4 separate regions of the Homo sapiens genome follow, and all the other regions are linked to region 1. Evidence: promoter capture Hi-C in 16 types of primary human blood cells and fetal thymus (Javierre and others, 2016). All regions are on one chromosome and are shown on one strand. The core of a region is centred on a gene start or on the middle of the fragment in contact, and the rest is flanking DNA. Distances in the headings are between cores, read along the strand shown.

Region 1 (6,416 bases), core at 2,243-4,742:
AAGGAAATAATATTTACATATTTATAATAATATAAATACTAACTACATTCAGTAGGTAAGGGAAAAGGGAGAGGAAAAAGTAGAATGTAAGAAAACTATACCCTTAAGAGGAAACCAATAACCTACCATAAATAGGTATATAAATGGCTATTTGTGTGAATTATTTAGATATATGGAAATAAATAGAGAAAAGATAGCTAAGAAAAGGTTTAAAATGGTTGCCTCTGGTGGCTGGGATGTTGACTGGTGAGGCAGCATAAGGGACTATTGTTTTCCAACAGAAGCCTTTTAATATTATTATAACTTTGCACAAGTGTTATTTTGATAAATGTAGAAACCAATTGAAATAGTACTTATTGTCACTGTGGCGTATTAGTTTGTTAGGGCTGCTGAAGTAAAGTACCACCAACTGGGTGACGTACACAACAGAAATGAATTGTCTCACAGTTCTCAAAACTTGAAGTTTGAGGTCAAGGTATGGGCAGGGCTGGTTTCTTCCGAGGGCTGTGAATGAAGGATCTGTTCCAGGCCTCCTTCCTTGGCTTGTGGATGACCATCTTCTCCCTGTGGCTTCACATTGTCCTCCCTCCAAATGTGTCTTTCTGTCCAAATTTCTTCTTTGTGTAAGGACACTAGTCATGTTGCATCAGAGCCCACCCTAATGACTTCATAACTTGATCACCTCTGTGGTCTGTCTTCAAATCCTTATTTGAATCCAAATTCTTTTTTTTTTTTTTTTTTTGAGACAGAGTCTTGCTCTGTCACCCAGGCTGGAGTGCAGTGGTGCAATCTTGGCTCACTGCAACCTTTGCCTCTCAGGTTCAAGCGATTCTCGATTCTCAGCCTCCTGAGTAGCTGGGAATTAAAATCCTCTGTAATGTTAGGCACATGCCACCACACCTGGCTAATTTCTTTGTATTTTTAGTAGAGATGGGGTTTTGCCCTGTTGGCCAGGCTGGTCTCAAATTCCTGGCCAAAGTGCTGGCCTTACCGGAGTGAGCCACTGCACCCGGCCTCATTCCAAATTCTGAGATACTAAGGGTTAGGACTTCAACAAAGGAATTTGAGAGATGAGGGATGGGACACATTTTAACTCATAACATGTGGGGATTGTCAATTGTAGCCAAAGTTTCTGTGGGAAAATCCTCTGTAGTGTTAGCAAGTTTCTTAATTGTGACTGTGAGTCCTGGGAGGTCTTGCTCTGTGTGGAACACAGGCTGCCATTCAAGAAGAGTGACACTGACTCAGACGTGGCCTCCCCAGTGGTTCTGGGAGTGAGGGTGCCACCGCACTAAGGGCAAACACTAACATTTAAGTAGAAATAGAAAAAGATGGCATTACAAGCATTTTGTGGAACCTCCATACTTTGGTTGTGTAAATTGTATATCACTCTATATATGGTGGAGTAGAAGATCAAAGATGGGACTTCCCCAAAATGTGTCATTAAGAACTTTTGTTGGAAAGATTTGAGAAGCAGAGGGTCTTTTAATAAAGATAGAGCTTTATAATATATCTACTAGATCTTGTATTTTTTAAATAGCCTGAATTAGTCTCCAGTTATTTTGTGAATAGAAAACAAGTCCTTACAACTGCCACCCACCCCTGTTGGTAACCTTCTTTAGGGCCAGGGCCATAAGAGTGACATTGGTGCAGGACTCTGTGTGCCAGGCATTCTTTCCACCAGTGAACACATATTAACTGATTTAGTCCTCACTCAAATCCTTGAGGTGGGTCCTGTGATGATCCTAGTGTCAGTGCCTCCAGAGCTCAAGCTCTAAACCATCTTACCCTACTCCCCAGCCCTCAGTCACAGTCAGTACAACACAAGCAAAATACTGGCATCACAGTGGGAGTGAATCAACCAGCATACGTCTATAACTCATTACTCAGAGAATGTTTAATTAACTATAAAGTTAGTATACGAAGAGGCCAGGCACGGTGGCTCAAGCATGTAATCCCAGCACTTTGGGAAGCCAAGGCAGGCGGATCACCTGTGGTCAGGAGTTTGAGACCAGCCTGGGCAACATGGCGAAACCCTGTCTCTACTAAAAAATACAAAAATTATTCAGGCATGATGGTGGGTGCCTGTAGTCCCAGCTGCTCGGGAGGCCGAGGCAGAAGAATAGCTTGAACCCAGGAGGTGGAGGTTGCAGTGAGGTGAGAGCGCCACTGCACTCCAGCCTGGGGGACAGAACCAGATTCCGTCTCAAAACAAAAACAAAAACAAAAATGTTAGTGTACAAAGAGATTTATAGTCAATGTTTGTAGTCTCACTGGATTACCTTTTCAAGGTTCCCTGGCTGATTCTTTACTGAGACAAGAGCCTAAAGAGAAACTTGGTGGTAATGTTGACATTTATATTACACTGTCATGGAGGGGGCGCTGGGAATTCAAAAGGCAAGGCTGCTGTTGGTTGGATTGGTTTCAGAAGTAAGCTTTCATCTTTCAAATCATTAGTGGGTAGTTCTAGTTCTACATATATAAAATAAATAGCAGAAGCAGAGTTACAGGACCCATGGCATTTAACAGAGCACAGAAAGGTGTGGCCCCACATTTTAGGTTAGGAAAATTATAAGAAAATGCCGGTGTCTAAGACTGAAGCCAATAAAATGTTAATTGAATGAGATTTATCATTCGCAGAAACTGTTCAACATAAGAGATGATTTATACGTGTTTTCATAAATGTGAATGCATAGGGTAATTGTCATGGAAACTTCCAAATTCAATGTTAGTTGTAACTAGACTGGATTAGACTCTTGCTAATCAAGTGTACAAGGGCATGCTTGTGTGAATTTTAGTTTTGGGGTGTATCTATGGGTATACATGAGTGTTTTAGGGAAGGAAGTGTGATCGGTATTTAATCTACATGGAGTATAAAAACTCCTGGAATTTGTCAATGTGATTGCAGCTGTGTTCATGGCTTATGGGTATGGCTTGTGATGTGTGAGTGAGGTATGGGGTGCTGGGTGGGATGGCGCTGTGGTGGCATAGCATGTTGGTGGAAGGGTGTGTGGTTTGGTAGGGTGAGCTGGTGTGTGGTGTGGTTGGACCTGGCATGGAACTTAACTGGAGTTTATGTGGAATGAACCTTGAGGGGTGAGTTTTCACATGGGGTGTTGATTATGTGGGAGGTGGGAGGCTGGAATATGTGAATGTTGGGGGGCTGTAGAGTGAATGTGGGGTGCGTGTGTATGTGTGTGTGAGATATGGTTATAGCTTAGCTTAGCTTTTGTTTAGATTTTCTTTTGCTCTTTGTTTTTGTCTTTGGCCTTTGTTTTATCTTTGTTTCGCTCTTTGTTTAAACTTTCTTTGGCTTTTGTTTGGTCTTTCTTTAGCCTTTTGTTTAAACTTTGTGTGGCCTTTTTGTAGTCTTTGTGTAGCTTTTGTTTTTAAGTGGATCTTCGCTGAGGACTCATCAAAAACACCTTGTGTAATGAAAAACCCAGATCTATAACCTCTCCCTATATATTCTGCATGCATTGAAGTAGGCTCAAACCCTCAGGGACCTGGTATAGACGCAGAATCTGTTTCACACAACAACTGCTATTTGAAGGTAAGAGGATTCCATTGGTTTTTATTTTACTTCATTTTATACTTTCATCTTTAAATGACAAGTGTACTTTTTTGTATGGGCCATTTCATTATATCCCAGGGAAAACTTTCTGTAAGAATAGTCAAGATTGAGAGGACATACAAGGATGGAGAAAACAAGAACAGAGGACACCATGTTTATTCTGATGTGGGCAGGGGGCCTCCTGGAATGTTCCTGCTAATGTTTGGAAATCGTCTGAGCCCAGAGAGAGGCTCTGAGCCCTTACTCAGATTTCCTCAGATTCAAAGCCCCATGTTCCTGGAGCTAGATGGATGGTAGTACATGCTGCTGCTGCTGCTGCTTTTTTTTTTTTAATTTATTTCTTCTTTTATTATTTGTCATGATTTAAAAATGAGTTTTTCTTCTTATCTAGGAACAATTTTTTTCCTCATACAGTTGGATTTATGTGTGGGGGATCTTAATGGAACAACAAAGCCCAAATCTTTTCGGAATTCTGCCCCCTGTAGACCAACAACCTTAAATGGAAAGGCGCTAATGCTTTGTCTGATACAGAATATCTTAGAAACAACAGGGAGTTTTCAGTTCTATGGATGACAGAGAAAGGAAAAAATATTATGTGTCAGGGAGGCGAGTAATGAACTTGGCCTACAGTACTAGCAGGAAAACGGGGAAAGGACTTTTTAATTCTTTGTGAATAAATCAGGGAGGCAGAGAGCAGGCTGCTGCCAGGTGTGCGGATATGCTGTTTCGTATTTAGAATGACAGGAAACTTGTTGGTGAGTGAGTTTTAAAAATTGTTTCAGATTTTCAGAAAAGTTGCAAACAATACAGAAAATTTCAGGTGCAGCCAAATTACCCAGATGTTCCTGTTTTACCATATTTCCTTTATCATTCTCTTTCTCTCTCTCTGTATCCATACATATGGGTGTATATATAAAAATATGTGTGTGTATATACATATATACATATGTGTGTGTATATACATATATACATATGTGTGTGTATATATACATATATACATGTGTGTGTATATATACATATATACATGTGTGTGTATATATACATATGTGTGTGTATACATATTACATATGTGTGTATATATACATATATACATGAGTGTGTATATATACATATATACATATGTGTGTGTATATATACATATATACATATGAGTGTGTATATATACATATATACATTGTGTGTATATATACATATATACATATGTGTGTGTATATATACATATATACATATGTGTGTGTATATATACATATATACATATGTGTGTATATATATACATATATACATATGTGTGTGTATATACATATATACATATGTGTGTGTGTATATACATATATACATATGTGTGTGTATATATACATATATACATATGTGTGTGTATATACATATATACATATGTGTGTGTGTATACATATATACATGTGTGTGTGTGTATATACATATATACATGTGTGTGTATATACATATATACATATGTGTGTGTATATATACATATATGTGTGTGTATATGTATAGATATATATACATATGTGTGTATATGTATATATACACATATTTATATCTAATTAATTTTAATTAAAATTTATTTTAATTGGAATTAACTAAAATTTATTTTAATTGGAATTAATTAAAATTTATTTTAATTGGAATTAATTAAAATTTATTTTAATTGGAATTAATTAAAATTAGAAAATTACTATTGAGAAAATACTGTTTTTAAATCTAGAGATATCTAGATTTCATCAATTGTCCAAGGAGCGAATTGAGAACCATGCATGACCTTTTGTTGTCCTGTCCCCTCAGCCTCCTTTAGTCTGGAACCACACCTGAGGCAGCTTTGACCTAGACAGTTTTGGAGAGTATAAGCCAGTTATTTTGCTAAATGTCCCTCAATATGGGTTTGGTCTGCAGTTTTCTCACAATTATGCAGTTTTCAAAGGAATAGGCTTGCATTTTAGATCATACATATCCAAATTCATACTTGAATCTGAGTATACAATTTTTAAATTCAAGATCTTGTTTACCTAATAGTTACTAGGATTTTAAATGAGTACCTAAAATCTTTGTACACCAAATTGCCAAAAATTAAAAATCTAGAGCTTTTACAGATAATTTCCAAGGAATCACCAAAAGTGTGTAAGTATTGCCCTTGGATTATAAATAGCAATTACAGTGACCTGTATGTGATCTTATAGGCTTAAAGTGAGGTATTCAATTTAGATTCTTTGTGTGTGTTGGAGTCATGTCTACTGCTCTCTGAGTATTAGTTTCATAAATATAATAATTCCTTTCTAAGTGCAACCATCTGCTGAAAGCAGATACAACTCAATAGAGTTTCCCTGGGTAGCCACTCCAGGCTGGCTGGCATCCTTTCGCGGGTTGACGGGGACGTCTGCCCTAGTGGAGGAGGCGGACCTCTGGCAACGCTGCAAAAAGTCTCCTGATCAAAAGTGTTTCCTACATGTTCTAGTACTCACACCTCAGCACTGAACTACAGACCACACCCATATTGAGGGACAACTAGCAAAATAACTGGCCAAAACTGTTAAAAACTGTCCCCTTATGGGGACAGGAATCAAAACTCTGAGATCCTTCAGCTGTACCAGACATTCGTAAAACAAGTCTTCTCAACAAAATCTGTGAGGTAGGAACTATCATTCACATTTTACAGAGAAGAAAATTGAGATCCAGAGACTAGCCTATGATTACACACAGCTAGTGAATGACAGAGCCTGGAACTCAAGTATGATATAAGCCTATTGAATTTATGGATGAGATGCATTATTCTTTTTTACTAATACATCACACACTTTACTTTAAAGTTACAAAAATTTAAGTTAAAAAG
Region 2 (6,416 bases), core at 2,412-4,911, 710 kb after region 1:
CAAAGCAAAGCTGTGTCTCAGTTACGTATACATATGACCACTCTTCTTGATTTGCCCTCAAATCTTTGATACTAAAAACATTCTTTCCCTGTTTTTTACTGTGGGCTCTTTGAGAGCAAAGACTGTTTTAAAGCTGCGGTTGGTGCCACAGGGAGCCTGTCCTGTTGATGATGATGATAATCATAGCAATCATAGCAACAATCTATGGTTCCAAGGGATATAAGTAGAACACATTGCTGCTGCCCACACAGGAGATGCAGCTACTGCAAAGAATGCTGTAACAAAAGTAACTGATGATCACACTGGGTGTTTTGCCCAAAGCTTCGGGACCAGTTGGTTCACGTGGCAAGTCCTGCTGGGCTGGGGCACATTAACCAGGAGTGCATTGTTGCCAGGCTTGCAGCAAAGGCTGTCAGGCACACACCAAGAGAGCATGGAGGAGCATCGAATTGGAATCAGTCAGACCCGAGCTCAACCCTTGCCTTACCCTTGGCCATCCATATGCTTTGGGCAAGTTATTCAATCCTGACTCTGTTTACTCATGTGCACTCAATCAAGTTGAGTGAGAGAACAGTTACACCGGCTCAGTGGTAATACTTAATAAATGCTCTTATTTGGCTAATATTTATTGAGTGCTTTCTCTGCGCTATGCATGATACTGATCCCTTAACATGAGGAAACTGAGGCTTAGAACAGTTTAAGTTTTTCCAAGATCCCACATAGCAAGAGGAGGAGCTGGCATTTACCCACTACCTAAGGTATCACCCATAAGTTAATGCCCAAGGAGTAAAGAGGAAGGGCCTATCTGAAGGCCCAAATTCTCAAGTTCATCAATGCAAGGGATTGCTGATGTGCTAACATTCCTGGATCCATGGACTCCCCCTGCAGCCCCCTTGCATAGATGTTCAAACACTCTAACTCAGACCAGCTCTTCCAGTCACCAGCCCTGCGTCTTCTGTGTACCCTAGAATAAGTAAGACAAGCAGAGTCTGTGCGTAGGAAAGAAAAGTGGGCACAGAGGGCTCAGCCAGCGTTATAAGCCAGTATAATAAACAAATAAATTACTCCTCTCTGGCTGAACTAGCTGGTGAGTAAAAGCATTGTTGTGGTGCCCTCTGCTGGGCGTGTGTTGCTTGTAATGAATTTGTGGCAGAACCACACCTGGGTCTCAGAACTGTCTTTTTCCACCCTGGCTGGAGACTGTAGGCCACCAGTGTCCTAGGACCTGTTGGAGACAGCTCTGCTGGGCCTTTTGTGGTTGTCAGGGTGTAGCTTTTTTCTAGTGTGGAACACTGATTTGCCTGAAATAGACTATTTTTATAGCCTGGCATTCCCTACTCTCTGCTGTTGGGACCAGAGAGGGACTTTTCATTTGTTAGTCTTGGCTTTTGCAGAGAATGGGGGAGAATTTCCGTCCCATAAAAAAGGACCCCAGCCACCACATATACACACAAGTCTGAGCCACTGCAAAAATGAAATATTAAGTATTGTTTCCCCTTTTTAAACTTGTATTCAGTGATTTACAGTGAGAAGCTTGTAGATTTTTTTTAAAGGCCAGATACAGTAAATGGCTTCTGTGAGGCTGCAATAATACTGCATCTGGCAACTAGGCTGTCAGCTTCATAAGGGCCAGCACTGTGTCTTACAGCCTATAAATTCAGTCACAAACATGCAACCAAGGATCACAAACAAAAGGCCATCCCTGCCCTCATGGAGTTCATTGTGTGTGGAAGACACAGCAAGTCAGTGCACAACGATAACAGTGTGGACAGAGCTGTGTGATCACACAGGAGGAGCAACCTAGCCAATCCCAAGGTACACCAGGGCCAAGGGCGTGTCCCTCTTGATACATGGAGGTTTGCCATAGAATGATGTTTTCCTTCATTTTTAATAACTTCACTTGCCAGTTGACCACCATCCTCAATCTCTATCCTCTCTGAAAGCTGCTCATTTTCTGTCAGATATTTAGCAGAATCGCAGAATGGCTCTGAATACCTAGCCCTGTGAAAACCTCGGGTGTTGTCAAGCTGCATCATCCAAACTGCTCTGGACACTCGAGACAGGGTCAGTGCTTGCTGTGCCCTCAGAATGAAGGAGATGACACTCAGCCAAAAGCCACTTTACATGTGTGTTAGCTTGGCTCTCCTCCAAGTAAAACCTTGCTCTCCAGGATGTAAGTGTAGATGACAGTGGGATCCTTTTTATTTCTTTCTCTTACTCCATAATTTTGTGTAAGAAATTGGAAAAAAAAAATTAGGCACTTTGAAAAACTCATTTTGTAACCATTCACTCGATAGCAAACATTCATTGATTTCCAATTCTGTACTAGTTACTGTGCCAGGGGCTACAGATGTCACTGCTAAAAGAACATTACCCTCAGTTGCTCCACAGTCTAGTGGGGGCCCCAGGCCAGAAGAGAGATGTTTGCAAGAGTGCAGTAAAACATAAGTACAGAAGAAGCCCATGACCACCAGCCCAGTTGGGGAAGGGGGCAATTGGTAGATTTCCCACAGGCCATGGCCTGCTTGAACTGAACCTTATCGACGCACAGTGTCTTGAGGAACTGATAAGGCAAGGAGAGCTCATCACCTCTGGGTTGCGTTAACCTATGACCATTGCATCGAAAGGCAGGTCTGGAGGCCCATCATGCTCTCTCTTCTATATTTGAAGGGATAGGAGCAGGTTGTAACACTTGGTTCACAGCTTAGGGGGTTCCATATTTGTTCTGTAAGCCCACCTTTCTCCTAGATCACCCCAAGGTTTCGTGGGGAAAGTAGAGGTTTCCTACGACTCTGAATCTGAACTGGCCTGCATTACCACTCTCCAACAGAGTGAACCAGACGCCCTGTATGTGAGGGGTCCTGGGCCCTAGCCTGGCCTGTGATGATGGGGATGCTGGGTTTTGATCCTCATCTATCTCTGTGTCTTTCCTCAGACTGGTCCAGAGTCCTTAGGAGGCAAGGCCATTGAGTGCATCTTCCTCTTCCAACCTCTAATCTTAAAGCTCAGTGTTGTCACCCAAGTATCCTGTGCTCATTTTTGCTGTCTTTCTTTCTTTGTTATTCTCTCATACCTTTTTTTTTTAAGCTACCATTATCATACAGTTTACTGTGAGTGCAGGGCAAGATTAAGTTTCCACGACTCTCAAGGAATTAAGTCACTTGGCCAAGGTAGTGTAGCCGAGGTGGTCACGGAGCCCAGGCACGGCTGACTCCTGGGTCCAGCTCCAAAGCACCCCATGGCCCTGCCCACAGCTCTTCTCTGAAAGAGCTTGCCTTTGTCTCCTAGGCTAGGTACCTGTGGGAGAGAGAAAGGTGAGGAAATGAGCACACTTTGCACTGGGACAGAAGGGAGTAGGGGCTGCTGGTGCTGACATCAACCAGCAGGTGGAAGCCCACTGCAAAGGGGGTCTGAGTTTTGGATCAGTACTTTGTTTAATACTGTAATCATAGATGCTTTCAGTGGCTTTGTGAATATACCCTTTCCTTCTTAAGATTACCAATGTAAAAACAGCAAAATAAACAACCAGTAAAATATAATTCCTTCATTAAATGGCAAAGAAAAACTTTAGTCTCTTTCTATTTGATAAAATTCTCTATACAACATTTGAGCTTCACAATACAACATATATATATATAATGCATTATATATCTATAATGCAATTCAAGTTTGTTCCTGTCAGTCACTTGAATTTCCATTTCTGCCACTTATCCTTAGGTTAGAGTTTGTTTTCCTTCCTTTAATTTAGGAGCTACATGGGAATATGTTGTAATAGTCCTGTGCTGTGGATGGATCATACCTTGCTCTGGGATCTCTTCAGGTTTGGAGGTCTTTGAGGAGAACATGCTTTCCACTTTGCATGCCCGAGAGCAACTCATCACACACAGTTGGCCCTGAGAAATATTGGCCGCAAGAGTGGTGGATAAGAAAGAGCCGTATGAGAGCTGGCCCCGTAAAATTACACTACATCTCATTCTTTCTACTAGGCCTGGCTGACTTGCAAGGGAATAAACATTTACCTGGCCTTATATACTGATTTGCAGCTTTTAAGGCTCACGTGAAAAGAGCCATTACCATTAAACATGTTTTCTCCATGCTGGACAATGTCTGCCCCCAAAAGGTGAAGGCACACCTCCCAGGCACTGTACCTTATGAGCTCACCCCTTCCCCTCTTTCCTTTCCACAGAGGTCCCAGTCTGCCTTCTCAATCACTGGAGAAGAAGCCCTGAAGACCCCTCCAGTGGAGGCTCCATCGAGGCAGCCAAGGGACCAAGGCCAACACCCGAGAGCAGAGTCTGCTCTGCCCAGCTGGAAGAGTGTGGACAGGCTGGATGAAACAAGTAACTGTTTTAAGCAGTATCTAGTTGGTCTGTGGGTTTCAAAAGTGTGGTTTGGAGACATCTTGGCTATTGCATGGCCACTCTGCTCTTCTTCCCATAAGTCTGAACTGGTGTGTGTCCCTCTGGGCTACCAAGTCATGAGGCCTCCAGCACAACACACAATATATAATGTGGTCATGTTCTCCACCCAGGCAGTTTTCCTAGCTGCTCTGGCAGAATGAAGGCTCTTAGGGTGTCATCATATTCTATGCTCTGTGCTGAGACCTGTGGGACAGATTGGGGGCTCCTGGACAAGTGTGTTCACATCACTCCACTGCACACCCCACTTCAGCTGCCTGTTCTATGTGGACTAGGAGAATGTGTCTTATGTGGGCCAGGAGCATTAAACCAACCTCTCATGGCATTTCAACTTTCAAAGGGATTTGGGTCCCAGCAAATTTGGGTCCTTAGGGCTGGTTTTAAGGATGTCCTTTCTGAAACTGGATAAATTAGTTAGGGTAGCATATGCCACTATAACAAGTAAACTGAATATCTAAGCGGCTTAATACAATCATTTTCTTTTTCATCACACAACAGTGCAGTACAAGTACCCCTGGCCTGTGGGAAGCCTTCAGAGGCCAAAGTACAAGGTTCCCACCTTGTGGCTCTATCATCCTCCAGGGCCTCTGAGTCTTTTATGGGCTTATCCATATTCAGACAGCAGATGGAGGAAGGCAGCATGGAAAAGGCAGGTACCTGCTTCTTAACTATCTCAGCACGGAGAGCTCACGCCACTTTCACTCCCAACCTGTGGACAGGAACTGGTCACGTGGCCCCACCTCAATGCAGGCCCGGAGAAATGGCATCCTGGCTGGGCAGATGCATACCAGTAACACGGCTGGGCCATGAAAGAGTCTTTGGTGGGCAGTTGTCTATCCCTGCCTGAGGGACATCCTGAGGAAGGCATTGATGTTTGCTTGCACCTCTGCTCTTCCTGATTCCTCCCCCTAGAATGTCCTGCCTCTACATGGGGCAAGTCAGCTTGCCTCTTTAGAGACTCTTCAACATGTATGGAATGTGGTCCTTTATAAAGCTGTTGAGTCACGTAATCCCTCAAAATGAAGGGGCTCAAATGAACTGAGTCATTTTCCTAAAGTCTCACATCAGAAGACTGTAAGTTGCTTGGACCCATCACTGTGGGTGACGGCCGAGGGCCATGAAGCCCCTGTGCTCAGGGGGCCTCCTGGTCTACATGAATGTCAGACTAAAACTTCCCCCAACCCCTGCACAGGTCTACTCCTCTCTTCCTATTTCCTGCATACACACACTGTGTCAGGAGGCCAGGCATATTTGTCTTCACATGAAGAAAGCATTAACAGTATTCTCATCCCATGTCGTATCAGATTTAGACCCCTTTCCTGAATAATGAAAACAACAAAAAAGATTAACAGCAGCATAGCCATCCTAGTAATAAGCTTTTAAAGATTGTGCTATTATTTCTACTCTAAAAGGGAAAAGATTTAACCAACAACTATAGAAACAAAATCCATTGTTACGACAGTGCAAAGAATCAGAAAACATTAAATATTTTTAACTGTCATTCTAAAGATTTACCAAAAGAGATTATTTTTATATTAACCTTTTAGTACCTATTAGTAGAAACTGCAGTGCCATGACATTGCAGAAATTCTGCAGCATGTGATCGTTTCTTTACTTATGTATATGGTGTTTGCTTTTGCTTTTTAAGTGCATTTTTCTTTTCTAGATATGCCTTTCTTTCCTCCCTCTGCCCTCCCAGTCTATTCATATTCATTCATTCATATTCTCGCTCTCTCTCTTCTTCCTCATTTTCTCACTTCTCTCTCTTTCTCTATGGATTGCAAATGCACACAGAAAATGGACTGTTAGATTCCATAGAGTACATGAGAATACCACATAATAGAACTTCAATACACAATATCTAGCTTTCTAAAATCACTTTAAAACATACAGAGTCACTTAAAGTATAATAAAAAAAATACAGAGTCCATATGTAGGCACTATTTTATTTTTTCCTCCAACAGCATTACCAGACACTGTCATTATTTTGTTTTGCAG
Region 3 (6,416 bases), core at 1,197-3,696, 540 kb after region 1:
CCATCAAATTTCATTCAGGAAAGGTCCTTCTTGCCGTAGTTTAGAGAAGGAAAATAGAAGGAGAGAGGGAAGTTTAGTACCCAGCTTAGAAGGAGGCTGTTGTGGCAGAGCTTGCAGTAAGCCGAGACTGCGCCACTGTACTCCAGCCTGGGTGACAGAGCAAGACTCTGTCTCAAAAAAAAAGGAGGCTGCTGTGGTGGTCCCCAGGGCAGTGAGGTAGTGTTGAATTAGAGGAGTGACAGCAATGATGGATTCCAGATATGTTATATTTAGGGGCTAGAATATGTAGACCTGGATGGACTATGGCAGGTCAGGGGCATAATCAAGAAAACGTCCTGTTTCTGGCTTGAGCAGATGAGTGGTGGAGGGACCATTAACCGAGCCTCAGATGCCTATATTCTCACTTCAGGAATCTGTGATTGAGCACCTTCTCTTCCTGGGAGTTTTCATGTTAAATGTTGATTATGCTGCCCTGTAATTATAAAGACTAATACTTACTCCAGAAAATTCTGTATTTGCAGTATTCGTCTTCTAGCATTTGCACTTACTTTGACCACTGTTAAGACACAAAGTTGTTGAGCTGAATGGAAAACTGCTGTGGATGTGTTCCCTTAAGCAGCTAAATTAAATGGGACATGTTGTTGTGAGGGCTTATTTTTTTTAAGAGGCTGGGTCTTGCTCTGTTGCCCTGGCTGGGGTGCAGTGGCACAATCATGGGACCATAGTCTTGAGCTGCTGGGCTCGGGCAATCCTCCCACCTCAGCCTCCAGAGCAGTTATGACTACAGGTGTTCACTACCATGCCCAGCTAAGTGATCATTGCATGTGTGTGATGGCCTCAGCAAATGCTGGGGGGAAATGTCTTTACTTGGAGAAATAACTGATATTGGTTTAGTCTTTGGAGAAGTAACTTATATTGGTTTAGTCATCAGTGTCACTTGAAGACAGAGGCAGCCTCATTTTTGTCAGAATTCTGTACAGGCTAATGCATCCAGCCATGGAGAAAGCCGTTTCAAAATTCTGATCAGTTGTCAGAGGACCATTCATGTCCTAGGACTTGGCCATCATCATTCTCCTGTGAGCTACAGAGCAGGCTGTCCTCTGACTTTGCATTAGTTTAAATATATGTTAAAAAAAAAAAACCACACATGGAGAATCCTTTCTAAAACAGGCGATCCAATGAGGAAGTTATGGGAGGAAAGGGAATAGAAACGCCAACATACGTGAATGCTTCTGGCCTTAGCTCAGGTGTCCTCTCCTCATCAGTGTGCACAGTCTTGATTCAAACTCCCTCCATTCCTCACAGACATTGTGATGAGACAAGATTGACTTAACCTCCATGAACCTCAGTTTCTTCTTTTGCATATGCTGGCATTGTGTGCCGAGTATCTAATGTGGCTCCTGGCCCAGAGCAGACTACAGTGGGTTCTCCAGAGAAACAAAACCACTAGGATGTGTGTATGTGTGTGCAAGATTGACTGATTTTAAGGAGTTGGCTTAGATGATTATGAAAACTGGCATATCAAAATCTGCCGAATGGTCACAAGGCTTGAGAGCTAGGGAAGAGTTGCACTTCAGTCCAAAGGTGTTCTGCTGGCAGAATTCCCTCTTCTTCAGGGAGGTCAGTCTTTTTCTTAAGTCCTTTGATTGGATGAGGCTCATCCACATTATGCAGGGTGATCTGCCTTAATCAAAGTCTATAGGTTTAAATGTTAATCTTGTCTGAAAAACACCTTGACAAGAACACCCAGACCTTTCTACCCACATATCTGGGTACTGTGGCCTAGCCAAATTAACATACAAAATTAACCATCACACAGATTATCTAAAAATGCCTTTGCAGACACAACTGGCTGTCTTTTGCTGAGTTCAGTGGCCCTCCCAGTTCCTCTGGGGAAGACCCTGGGGTAGAGACTTCATGCTTCATAGCACTTGACTCCCATGGTTTTGTCTTTTCTTGGCTCTGAACTTCTCTGCACTTAGAATATTATATGGTACAAGGTAGCATTTCCATATATGTTTATTTAATAAAGGACCACATAAATTATGTAGGATCCATTTAAACAAGCAAAGGACAGAAATTTCAATAAGCTATGTATTTATTTATTCAGTATGAATTTAAAGCAATGGATAAATTTAGATATAAGCTTCAGGAAAGACGTTTAACATATTTTAAAATGAAGCCTGTTAAACTAATGCTATCCATTTTTTTCCAAAATGGTATTTTCTGTATTAAACTTTAGGGTATTTCTCTGGCTTAGCCAGGCTGTAAGTCCCTGCTTTGTCTCAGTTTCCTCTCCAGGGAAACAGGAGAGTGTGGTAGAAGGAAGAGAGTATATTGCAGTCACTCTGTGATTCCAGAATCAAGAGCCAGCTCAGACACAGGGGTACATGAACTGGAAGACACAGCCGAGGGAGAACAGCACTTCAGCAATATTGGTAATTATAGCAAGACCCTGCAGGACTCCTTACATCACAGTCTCCACATGGCCACTCGACCTCAGGAAGCCTGATGGTTCCTGAACCAGAAAATATGCTTATTCCAATCAGCCCCCAAGAGTGATATTGCTGAAAGAACACGAAGTCAAAAGAATTTCAGGTTCTCTGCAGATTTGCCTCTTGTCTTCTCATTTCCTTGTGCCCAGACAGGACCTAGGTAGCCTTAGGGATGCAGACACTGCGTGATGTTTCCAGCAGGTGCACCACTGAGTCCGTCTGCTCCCTGTGTGCTTCCTATTTCCTTGTTCAAAGCTTCTCCTGCCTGCCCTTGCTCCAGGCCTGAGGTTGAGGTGACAGGACTTACTGTCACAGAAGCCAAGACAAATGGATGGGCAGGGGAGGAAGAGAAATAGCAACACAGAGTGTTCCCTGCTGGAGTGAGACTTCCAGCAAGGTTGGGGTTGTGACAGCAGCAGGGAGAACAGAACTGTATGGGCCAAATGTGGAGACTGCCAGACCCTGCCATTGCTGGCGCCCTCTCCTAGGCACGGTCACCACAGTGGAGGGATGACAAACTGCTACTTCTTTTTTTTTTTTTTTTTGAGACGGAGTCTCACTCTGTCACCCAGGCTGGAGTGCAGTGGTGTGATCTCGGCTCCCTGCAAGCTCCGCCTCCCGGGTTCAAGCGATTCTCCTACCTCAGCCTCCCGAGTAGCTGGGACTCCAGGCACCTGCCACCACACCTGGCTAATTTTTTGTATTTTTAGTGGAGACGGGGTTTCACTGTGTTAGCCAGGATGGTCTTGATCTCCTGACCTCATGATCCGCCCGCCTCGGCCTCGGCCTCCCAAAGTGCTGGGATTACAGGTATGAGCCACCACGCCTGGCCCCAACTGCTACTTTTTAATGTGGAGGCTCAGGACTTCCTGAGCAGCCCTGCTGAAAAGCAATCTGAGATGGGCTTCAAGGGCATACATGTCTTCTGGATAAACAGGGCTGCCTCCTGGAATCAGAAACCCCTCACCTTACTGGGGATGCTATGTGTTAGATAGAGGCTTCATTTCCCAGTGGTTCCATTAAATGGTCACTCTGATGCTATTACTAATGCAATGATAAAACAGTGATTTTATCCCGTGACTGTGATGTATAGGTTCTGTGAATGCATACTTTATTTCCACTGCCTCCAGCAATTCTACAAAGTAGGCGTTATTGGCCTCATATTGCAGACATGGCAACTGAGGTCAGCGAGTTGAAATAACTTGCCAGGTCTTTCTGTTGCCAAAGTCTGTGCTCTCCATGCAACATTTTCTCAGTAAAGATGATTTTCCTTTCTCCTTTAAGGAATGATGAGCCTAGGGAGAAAATGCTGTCCTGGGAACTCAGAAGAAAGGACAGTGAATGAGAGGGTCCTAGGCAGATGGCCAGCCATTCAAGGGCAAGCCAAGGTGGGAGCTGTATATGCAGGCAGAATATCCAGGGTGCCTGAGGGAATGGAGCCAGAAAGAATGCAGCGAGAGGGAATGCAACAGCACTGCTTGTTCTGAAGCACAAAGCCAGCAGATTTCTGGGAATTTGCTAGACAGCAAGGCCAAGGAGAAAGCATTGCCAAGACTTGAGGAGTTAGGGTCACCAGGAACTCACGGAAAGCTGGCCTCTGAGAGTGGCAGCTGAGGGGACAGCAGAGCTTCCTGTGCCTCCCAGTGCCTGGAAGGGAGGAGAAAGAGCAGAGGAGCCCTGGCCACCCCAGATATTCTAGTAGGAGACAGCCATAGAGGTGCCGGGTAGCAGTAACCATTTCTAAACCCTACAGGCCTGTGAAATGAGAGTTCTTTATAGACCTACTTGCTTCCACTTGATTCCAAGAGCAGAACAGGACAGCCCATCATGAACCAGTGAGGCTTGGTGGCTTCAGAAGTCCATGTAAAGATAGATGCTTTAAAACAGGGTTGGTTTTAGTCACACCTCATGGCCCACCTCATTCCAGGTGCATTTAGAATGTTTCTACATGCTCTACTATGCTTTGCATTGGTTCTTCAGCCAGTATGGTTGCTCTAAGCTGCCATACCTCCCCTGCCCCTACTACACATTTAAGGGACCTAAGGATGTCAGAAATCTCTTAGGATGCCTGGTCCTGGTTCTGGTTCTGGACTTCTTGTGCCATCCTGCTTTCCTTTCACTGTCATCTTGCTCTGAATCTTGCCTCTCTCTGCCTCCTGATGCCAACTTTATCTCATTCTTGCTGTACTTGACCTTGACCCTGCTCTTCTGTCTCAGAGTTAGTTTTATCTGCATATATGTGAATAACCCATTTCTCTTTTACATAAAAAAAATCAGCAGTGGGTTTAGGACTAGTGGGGTGGCTCCCCCATGTCATTGAGAACCCAAGTTCCTGCATTTCTGATCTACACAGCCTCTCAAAGACAAATCATAGATCAAGATGGCAACTAGAGCTCGAACCAGCATGGACAGAGGGCAAGATGGGGGAGAAAAGGCAGAATGACAAAATGGTGACCCTCCTTGCTGAATGAGCTCCCTCTAAGCATCCTATGCCCCACACATCACAGCCACTTTTATGTCATAGGCCAGGACCTAGTCACATGGCCACACCTAGCTGCAAGTGGTGCTGGGAAACACAGTCTTCATTCTGGAAAGCAATACCTAGAAATCAAGATTCTGTCATTAAAGAAGAAGGGAGGAAGGGTACTTCCCTTCCCTCTTTCTATTCCTTCTTTCCTTCAGTGACCTAGGCTCACCGTTAATCATGGTTTGGGCGTTTCTTCTGGGTTCAGTATCTCATACTGCCAAGTATGAATGAAAACTAATACACATCTAACCTTAACTTAGTACCAACATCATAGCCATTCTTTGAGCTTCTCTGTCTTCTTCTGCACACTGTTGCTCACCACTGTTTGCCCAAATCCATTGCATTGATCTAGACACCTGCCTTGTTGTGATTAAGCTCACACAAAGCACTACAGCAGCTGAAGGCAAACACAGTTTCTGTCCTGAATCCTTTCTCTCTTTTTTTTGGTTTAATGAACCAATTTGACAGATAGATTTAGAATAGGAAAGTAAAGTTCCTGGGGCATATAAAAAGTAAACAATCTCTACTTCAACTTTGGAAATTCTTTCAGGCAATAAAATAATAAGTAAATACACAAAATGAAAAAGCTCAAAAGCTACAGCCTCAAGGTACCCTAGTTCAGTGATTTGCAATCTAAGTAGAGGAATCCATTTAAAAAAATCTCAGGCTGATTTCCAATATGTAAAAGATATAAAATGGTGTTTTAGTTCCATAAATTTACTTATACATCATAATATATACTTACTTATAAACACTACCAATTAAATAAAATGAAGCTATATTAATAAGTTTAACTATTTGAAACCCGGATTTACAGATGTAGTCTTACAACAATGTTAATACCCAGTTTATTTCTATGTGCATTTTTTTGTTTGATTTCATAATATCATGGAAATCTGGATATAGACAGATAAGTAGTTCTTTTTACGGTTTATCTCACAGCTTCAGTCATGTTCTTCAATCAAGTGTAGATGACAAGGGCAGCTTTCTTCTGAATCCACCTAGTACAGAGTGGTAAATGACCCTGGCAGCTCCAGATAACCGACTGGTGGCTTCAAAATATTAAAATTCAATACATGATGTGTTTAAATGTGCATGTTGTTTTTTATTTCAACATTATAAATAGTTAAGTATATTAAAATGGAATTAAACCCAACAGTTACAGAACCCCTGGAATACTGAAGTCCATGGAGACATCTCCAAGTGTAATAGCTTAGGTTTTTGTCTCACCAAAGTTGCCTGTGGTCGTTAATTTTATGTGAACTTGACCGGGCCCCAGGGTGCCCAAGTTAAATATGATTTCTGAATGTGCCTGTGAGGGAGTTCCTAAGTCAGATTAGCATTTGAATAGGTGGACTTAGTGAAGCAGATCATTCTCCCCGCTTGTGGATGGG
Region 4 (6,416 bases), core at 1,319-3,818, 520 kb after region 1:
CATGGCTCTGAGTGTTGATCCCTGATGGCTCGGAGCTGCTCTTATCTCTGGAGAACTTTCCTTGATAGAGAATATAACCCCCGTGGGTAGGGGGTGGAGTGGATTCCTGCAGACATGACTTGCTAATGCAGGAGAACAAAGGCATATCTTCTTTTCTCAAGGTGGGACCAACTCTGCAGGACAAAGCATGTTCCAGAGCTCCCAGGGGGTCAGACCAAAGCAGACTGCAGCTGAGGCCATATCTCTGCTTGTCCCCTTCTTCTCTTGTATCCTGCTTCCTTTGCTCCCCTTCTTTTGAGGCTACTCTTACAATAAATCATGTTAACAAGATTCCCTGTTTCATATTCTGCTCTTTATTATTATTATTTTTTAAGTTCCGGGGTACAGGTGCAGAACATGTAGCTTTGTTACATAGGTATATGTGTGCCATGGTGGTTTGCTGCACCTATCAACCCATCATCTAGGTTTTAAGCCCTGCATGCATTCGTTATTTGTCCTAATGCTCTCCCTCCCTTTGCCCTCTACCCCACGACTGGCCCCAGTATGTGTCATTTCTCCCCCTGTGTCCATGTGTTCTCATTATTCAGTTCCCACTTGTGAGCGAGATCATGTGGTGTTTGGTTTTCTCTTCCTGTGTTAGTTTGCTGAGGATGATGGCTTTCAGCTTCATCCATGTCCCTGCAAACGACGTGATGTCATTCCTTTTTATGGCTTCATAGTATTCCATGGTGTATATGTACCACACTTTCTTTATCCAGTTTATCATTGATGGGCATTTGGGTTGGCTCTATGTCTTTGCTATAGTAAATAGTGCTGCAATAAACATGTTTGCCTGTGTCTTTATAATAGAATGATTTGTATTCCTTTGGTTATATACCCAGTAATGAGATTGCTGGGTCAAATGGTATGTCTGGTTCTAGATCCTTGAGGAATTGCCACACTATCTTTGGCAATGGTTGAACTAATTTACATTCCCACCAACGGTGTAAAAGCATTCCTATTTATCCACAGCCTTGCCAGCATCTATTGTTTCTTGACTTGTTAATAATTGCCATTCTGACTGGCATGGTTTTGATTTGCATTTCTTTGATGATCAGTGATGTTGGACTTTATTTCTCCTTTGCTTATGAAGCTTAGTTTTTCTGGATATGAAATTATGGGTTGAAAATTTTTTTCTTTAAGAATGTTCAATCATGCTGCTATAAAGACACATGCACACGTATGTTTATTGTGGCACTATTCACAATAGCAAAGACTTGGAACCAAGCCAAATGTCCAACAATGATAGACTGGATTAAGAAAATGTGGCACATATACACCATGGAATACTATGTGGCCATAAAAGATGATGAGTTCATGTCCTTTTTAGGGACATGGATGAAATTGGAAATCATCATTCTCAGTAAACTATTGCAAGAACAAAAAACCAAACACCGCATATTCTGACTCATAGGTGGGAATTGAACAATGAGAACACATGGACACAGGAAGGGGAACATCACACTCTGGGGACTGTTGTGGGGTGGGGGAAGGGGGAAAGGATAGCATTAGGAGATATACCTAATGCTAAATGACGAGTTAATGGGTGCAGCACACCAGCATGGCACATGTATACATATGTAACTAACCTGCACATTGTGCACATGTACCCTAAAACTTAAAGTATAATGATAAAAAAAAAAAGATTGTTGAATATTGGCCCCCACTCTCTTCTGGCTTGTGGTGTTTCTGTTGAGAGGTCTGCTGATAGTTTGATGGGCTTCCCTTTGTAGGTGACCTGGTCTTTCTCTCTGGCTACGCTTACCACTTTTTCCTTCATTTTGACCTTGGAGAATCTGATGATTATTTGGGGTTGGTCTTCTCATGGAATATCTTAGTGGTGTTCTCTGTATTTCCTGAATTTGAATGTTGCCCTGTCTTGCTAGGTTGGGGAAGTTCTCCTGGATAATATTCTCAAGTGTGTTTTCCAGCTCGGTTCCATTCTCTCTGTCTCTTTCAGGTACTCCAATCAATTGTAGGTTTGGTCTTTTTGCATAGTCCCATATTTCTCGGAGGTTTTGCTCATTCCTTTTCATTTCTTTTTTCTCTAATCTTGTCTGCATGCCTTATTTCAGCAAGATGGTCTTCAAATGCTGATATCCTTTCTTCTGCTTGGTTGATTTGGCTATTGATACTTGTGTATGCGTCATGAAGTTCTTGTGCTGTGTTTTTCAGCTCTATCAGGTCATTTATGTTCCTGTCTAAACTGGTTATTCTATTTAGCAGCTCCTGTAGCCCTCTATCAAGGGTTTTGGCTTCTTTGCATTGGGTTAGAACATGCTCGGTTAGCTCAGCGGAGTTTGTTATTACCCCCCTTCTGAAGCCTATTTCTGTCAATTTGTCCATCTCATCTTCCATCCAGTTCTGCATCCTTGCTGGAGAGGCATTGTGATCATTTGGAGGAGAAGAGGCACTCTGGCCTTTTAGATTTTCAGCGTTTTTTTCGTTGATTCTTTCTCATCTTCATGAGTTTGTCTAATATTGATCTTTGTGGCTGCTGACCTTTGGGTGGGGATTTTGTGGGGACTTTTTATTGTTGATGCTATTGTTGTTGTTGCATTGTTGTTGCTTTCTGTTTGTTTTTCTTGCAGTTATCAGGTCCCTCTTCTGTAGGGCTGCTGTGGTTTGCTGGGGGTTCGCTTCAGGCCCTATTCATCTGGTTCATTCCCATGCCTGGAGATGTCACACAAGGAGCCTGGAAAACAGCAAAGATGGGTGCCTGCTCCTTCCTCTGGGATCTCTGACCTAACTGATGCCAGTAGGAACGCTCTTGTATAGCATGTCTGACAACCCCTGTTGGAAGATCTCACCTAGTTAGGTGGCAAGGGGAGCAGAACGCATTTAACAAAGCACTTTGTCCCTTGGTGGATTGGGCGTGCTTCACTGGGGGGAAACCCACACATCTGGGCTGCCTGAATTCTTCAGAACTAGCAGGAGGAAAGAATAAGTCTACTGGTCTGCAGAGACTGCAGCCACCCCTCCCGCTAGGGCTCAGGCCCAGGGAGATCAGAGTTCTGTCCTTGAGTCCCTGGCTGAAGTTGTTGGAGTTCCTGTAGGGAGGCCCTGCCTTGATGGGTCAAGGTCAGGCCTGAAGAGGCACTCTGTCCGCAATCTGCCACAGCCATTGTGTTGGACTGTGGGGGATACCTCTTGGGACCAAGCTGTCCAGCCTCCCCAGCTCCAGCAGGGGAAAAGCCTGGCCTGGAGCTATAGAGATGGCTGCTGCCCTTCACCTGCCCTTAGAGCTTAGTTTGTTAGGCAGCTATCAGTCCCAGTGTTGGCTGTCACCCGTCCCCCAAGGAGTCCAAACGGCTTAGACAGCAGGCAACTGCAGCTGTGGTGCTGATCACCCTCCCCCAGGAGCTCAGCAGCCTTAAGCAGATTCTAGCTTAGTGCCTGTTGAGAATCTGTATGGCTTCATTGTTGGGACCCTAGACCCCAGTGGAATGGACTCATGAGTTGGATCTTCCAAACCATGGGTTGCACAGTTCCATGGAAAAAGGACATTTTCCAGGCTGGGTAGTATGCTCATTCACTGACTCCCTTGGCTGGGGGGAGTGGACTCCTCTGCCCTGTGTAGCCACCACACCACACTACTCTTCCTTCTTCTCTGTGGATCACAGCAGCCACCTAGTCATTTCCGATGTTGGAATCTGGATACCTCAGTTGCTGGTGCAGGATTCGCATGCTGTTATGGTTCTTTTCAAGGGGAGCCTCTGATTGCCACTGCTTCTAGTCAGCCATCTTGACCCCACCCCTGTTCTGCTCTTTGAGTCTGTGTTTTCTTATCTGAACAATAAAGATAGCTCACTGCTCATAGAATTATTTTGAGGCTTGAGTGAAATAATGTCTATTAGGTATCTGGAAAAGTTTAAAAATCAGACATTCAAGGGCTGATACTAATTGTTGTTACATTAGGCCACAGCCCATGACTAAAGAAGTGTTGAAAAACTGAAATCCTATTGAAAGCTTTTCACAGTGTCTTGTTATTCATTCTGATTGTTCTGGTCATCGTGGCCCAAGAGAGGATACATTCCCTTTGCCAAGTAAACATTTTTCAGTTTCTAAGTGCAGGGCTGCCCTCTAGTGGACTCTGAATGCATGTTCATTGAGGATAATAGGTAGTTTTTGCAGGCACATGGCAAACTGTATGAAAACATGTCCTTTGCAGGAACATGGATGAAGCTGGAAACCATCATTCTCAGCAAACTGTCACAAGATCAGAAAACCAAACACTGCATGTTCTCACTCATAAGTGGGAGTTGAACGAAGAACACATGGACACAGGAAGGGGAACATCACACACTGGGGCCTGTCGGGGAGTGTGGGGCTACGGGAGGGATAACATTAGGAGAAATACCTAATGTAAGTGACAGGTTGATGGGTGCAACAAACCACCAGGGCACATGTATACCTATGTAACAAAACTGCACATTCTGTATGTGTAACCCAGAACTTAAAGTATAATAAAATAAATAAATAAAATACTTGTTTAGTCAAAAAAGGAAAATTGGTCTAAGTGTCTGCCTCGATAAGCTTCTAGTGTCCTCCAGAGACAAAACACTGCAACCTGTTGTCATCAGAGCATCTGTTCCTATTCCCTTGAGGCTTGAGGCTTAAAACCAGATGGAAATGTAGAGAGATCTCTACTCCAACTTCTCATTTCCAGAGAAAAATTCAGAATTCATAGAGGTAAAATGAGAACTGAATTCTAATCCTGCCTTGGCTGTGACTTCCAACTCAGAAGTGTTTTTGTGTGATGTGCTGATGTCCATTTGGACATAGATTCTTTCTCTAGGAATAGTTGCCATTTACTTAATTACAATCATTTCTAATTATTTTACTACCTTCCTACGACTTTTCCCTTTGCTCATTTTGCTGTAGCCACCCTGTCCTCTTATTGTTTATCTTAACGCAACAGGCAAGCTTCTCTCTCCATAACCTTTGCACAGGTGTTCCCTCTTCCTGCTATACTCTTTCCTGTACCACCTTCAAGTATTTGCTCAAATGTCACCTTCTCACTCTGACCACCCTATTCAATATTTCAGTTCCCCAACATAGCAGCACTCCAGGTGTCCCCTTATCCTGCTCTATAGCTTCTTTTTTCTGTAGCCCTTATCACTTTCTACTGTGCTGTATAACTTTATTCATTATGTAGTGTAATGAATTCAAGTGCCCCTGGAGCAAGGATCTTTGTCTCATTTCTTCACTGATATAGCCTGTGTTCCTAGAATAGTGCATAGTGCACACTAAGGGCTCTATAAGTATATATTAGATTAAATAACCTTCCAAAATAAGCTTGTCACTCAGTGGAAAAACCACTTCCTCCAGTGTAGAAGTGCAACTCTCTGAAGGTTGAGGAGAGATTGAACAAATTTTCTCTGCTCCATGAAAGACCAGACCACTGCTGCCTTAACATTGCGTGCCACCAAGTATTGACATCACAATTAACCCAAGAAATTGGTCACAAGTAGGAGTTTGTCATTAGAACTCCTAATCTGCTATCCCCTACAGTGCCTCCAGGACCCATTTATCAAGCCTCTCATCTCCATAAAGCCAAGTTTCTTTCATCCCCGGACTCTTTCCCCATGCAATGTAGTTTAGCTTCTATTCTTCTGACTCTGCTTCCACCACCTTGAGCCCCCAAACTCTGCCCTCTGGAGCTCACTGTCATCATTAGCAGGTGCTTCCTGTCTCCAGCTCTTCTCTGAAAATGACCATCATTGTTTTGCTCCAAAGTCTGCCTCTCCCCCAAGGGCACAGCTACCTTGCAGCTTTTTCAAATAGTGGCTCTTTATTCTCTTTCCAATTTAACTCTGGACTTATTCCAGACCAGAACTCCAGGTCCTTTAAAGTGCTTGCCATCTGAATGTACTACCGACCATGATCCTTGTTCTAGCCATCTTTCAGCCTTGTAGCCAGTCCCTCTCATTCACAGAACACTTTATTACCTAGACCACTGATGTGGTTTTGCCCACTAGTCCTGTGAATTTCCACTTTGGTGACACAGCATCCCTTCAGTGACCTATCCAACATCCTAGTCTCTCAACTTTCTGCCTCCTACAAATCTTCTTGTTTATGGTCCTTTTCTAGTCTTTGTCATCCTTAATAATGCCCAGCCTCCAAATTCTTGACCTTAGGCACTCTAGTCTCTGACCTCCACTTCTCATCTTCTTGTGGCTCCATTCCAATAATCCTTCATCCCTGTAATCTAGAAACTTTCACTTTTTCATTGTCAGGGACCCCTTCTTGTTCTGTCTTCTTTCTTACTTATCTTGGACTCTGTGGTCCATCAGGATATTTGTTTCTTTGTGTCTCAGACCATTTTGTGCTGATATAACAGAATACCACAGACTGGATAATTTATAATGAACAGA

The links. The method cuts DNA at HindIII sites, captures the fragments that hold promoters and counts their contacts. A CHiCAGO score of 5 or more calls a contact.
Region 2: a contact is called between a fragment that was not itself captured here and the fragment with the promoter of MOBP in region 1, in 2 of 17 cell types (endothelial precursors and megakaryocytes). The highest score is 6.2, in endothelial precursors.
Region 3: a contact is called between a fragment that was not itself captured here and the fragment with the promoter of MOBP in region 1, in 1 of 17 cell types (M1 macrophages). The highest score is 5.9, in M1 macrophages.
Region 4: a contact is called between a fragment that was not itself captured here and the fragment with the promoter of MOBP in region 1, in 1 of 17 cell types (M1 macrophages). The highest score is 5.0, in M1 macrophages.

The regions. Positions count from the first base shown.
Region 1 is chr3:39,464,188-39,470,603 of GRCh38, forward strand. MOBP (myelin associated oligodendrocyte basic protein) reads left to right here and starts at 3,493. Exons shown (of 4, transcript NM_001393704.1): 1 at 3,493-3,553. RefSeq lists an enhancer at 3,111-3,793. The HindIII fragment of the contact is 9,372 bases long and covers 2,434-6,416 here.
Region 2 is chr3:40,178,034-40,184,449 of GRCh38, forward strand. It overlaps MYRIP (myosin VIIA and Rab interacting protein), which reads left to right. Exons shown (of 17, transcript NM_015460.4): 9 at 4,187-4,340. All of the region lies in intron 2 of EIF1B-AS1 (EIF1B antisense RNA 1), which reads right to left. Among named protein-coding and RNA genes, the nearest start is that of EIF1B-AS1, 130 kb to the right of the region's middle. The HindIII fragment of the contact is 4,261 bases long and covers 1,532-5,792 here.
Region 3 is chr3:40,006,215-40,012,630 of GRCh38, forward strand. All of the region lies in intron 2 of MYRIP (myosin VIIA and Rab interacting protein), which reads left to right. Among named protein-coding and RNA genes, the nearest start is that of MYRIP, 200 kb to the left of the region's middle. The HindIII fragment of the contact is 604 bases long and covers 2,145-2,748 here.
Region 4 is chr3:39,986,642-39,993,057 of GRCh38, forward strand. All of the region lies in intron 2 of MYRIP (myosin VIIA and Rab interacting protein), which reads left to right. Among named protein-coding and RNA genes, the nearest start is that of MYRIP, 180 kb to the left of the region's middle. The HindIII fragment of the contact is 2,876 bases long and covers 1,131-4,006 here.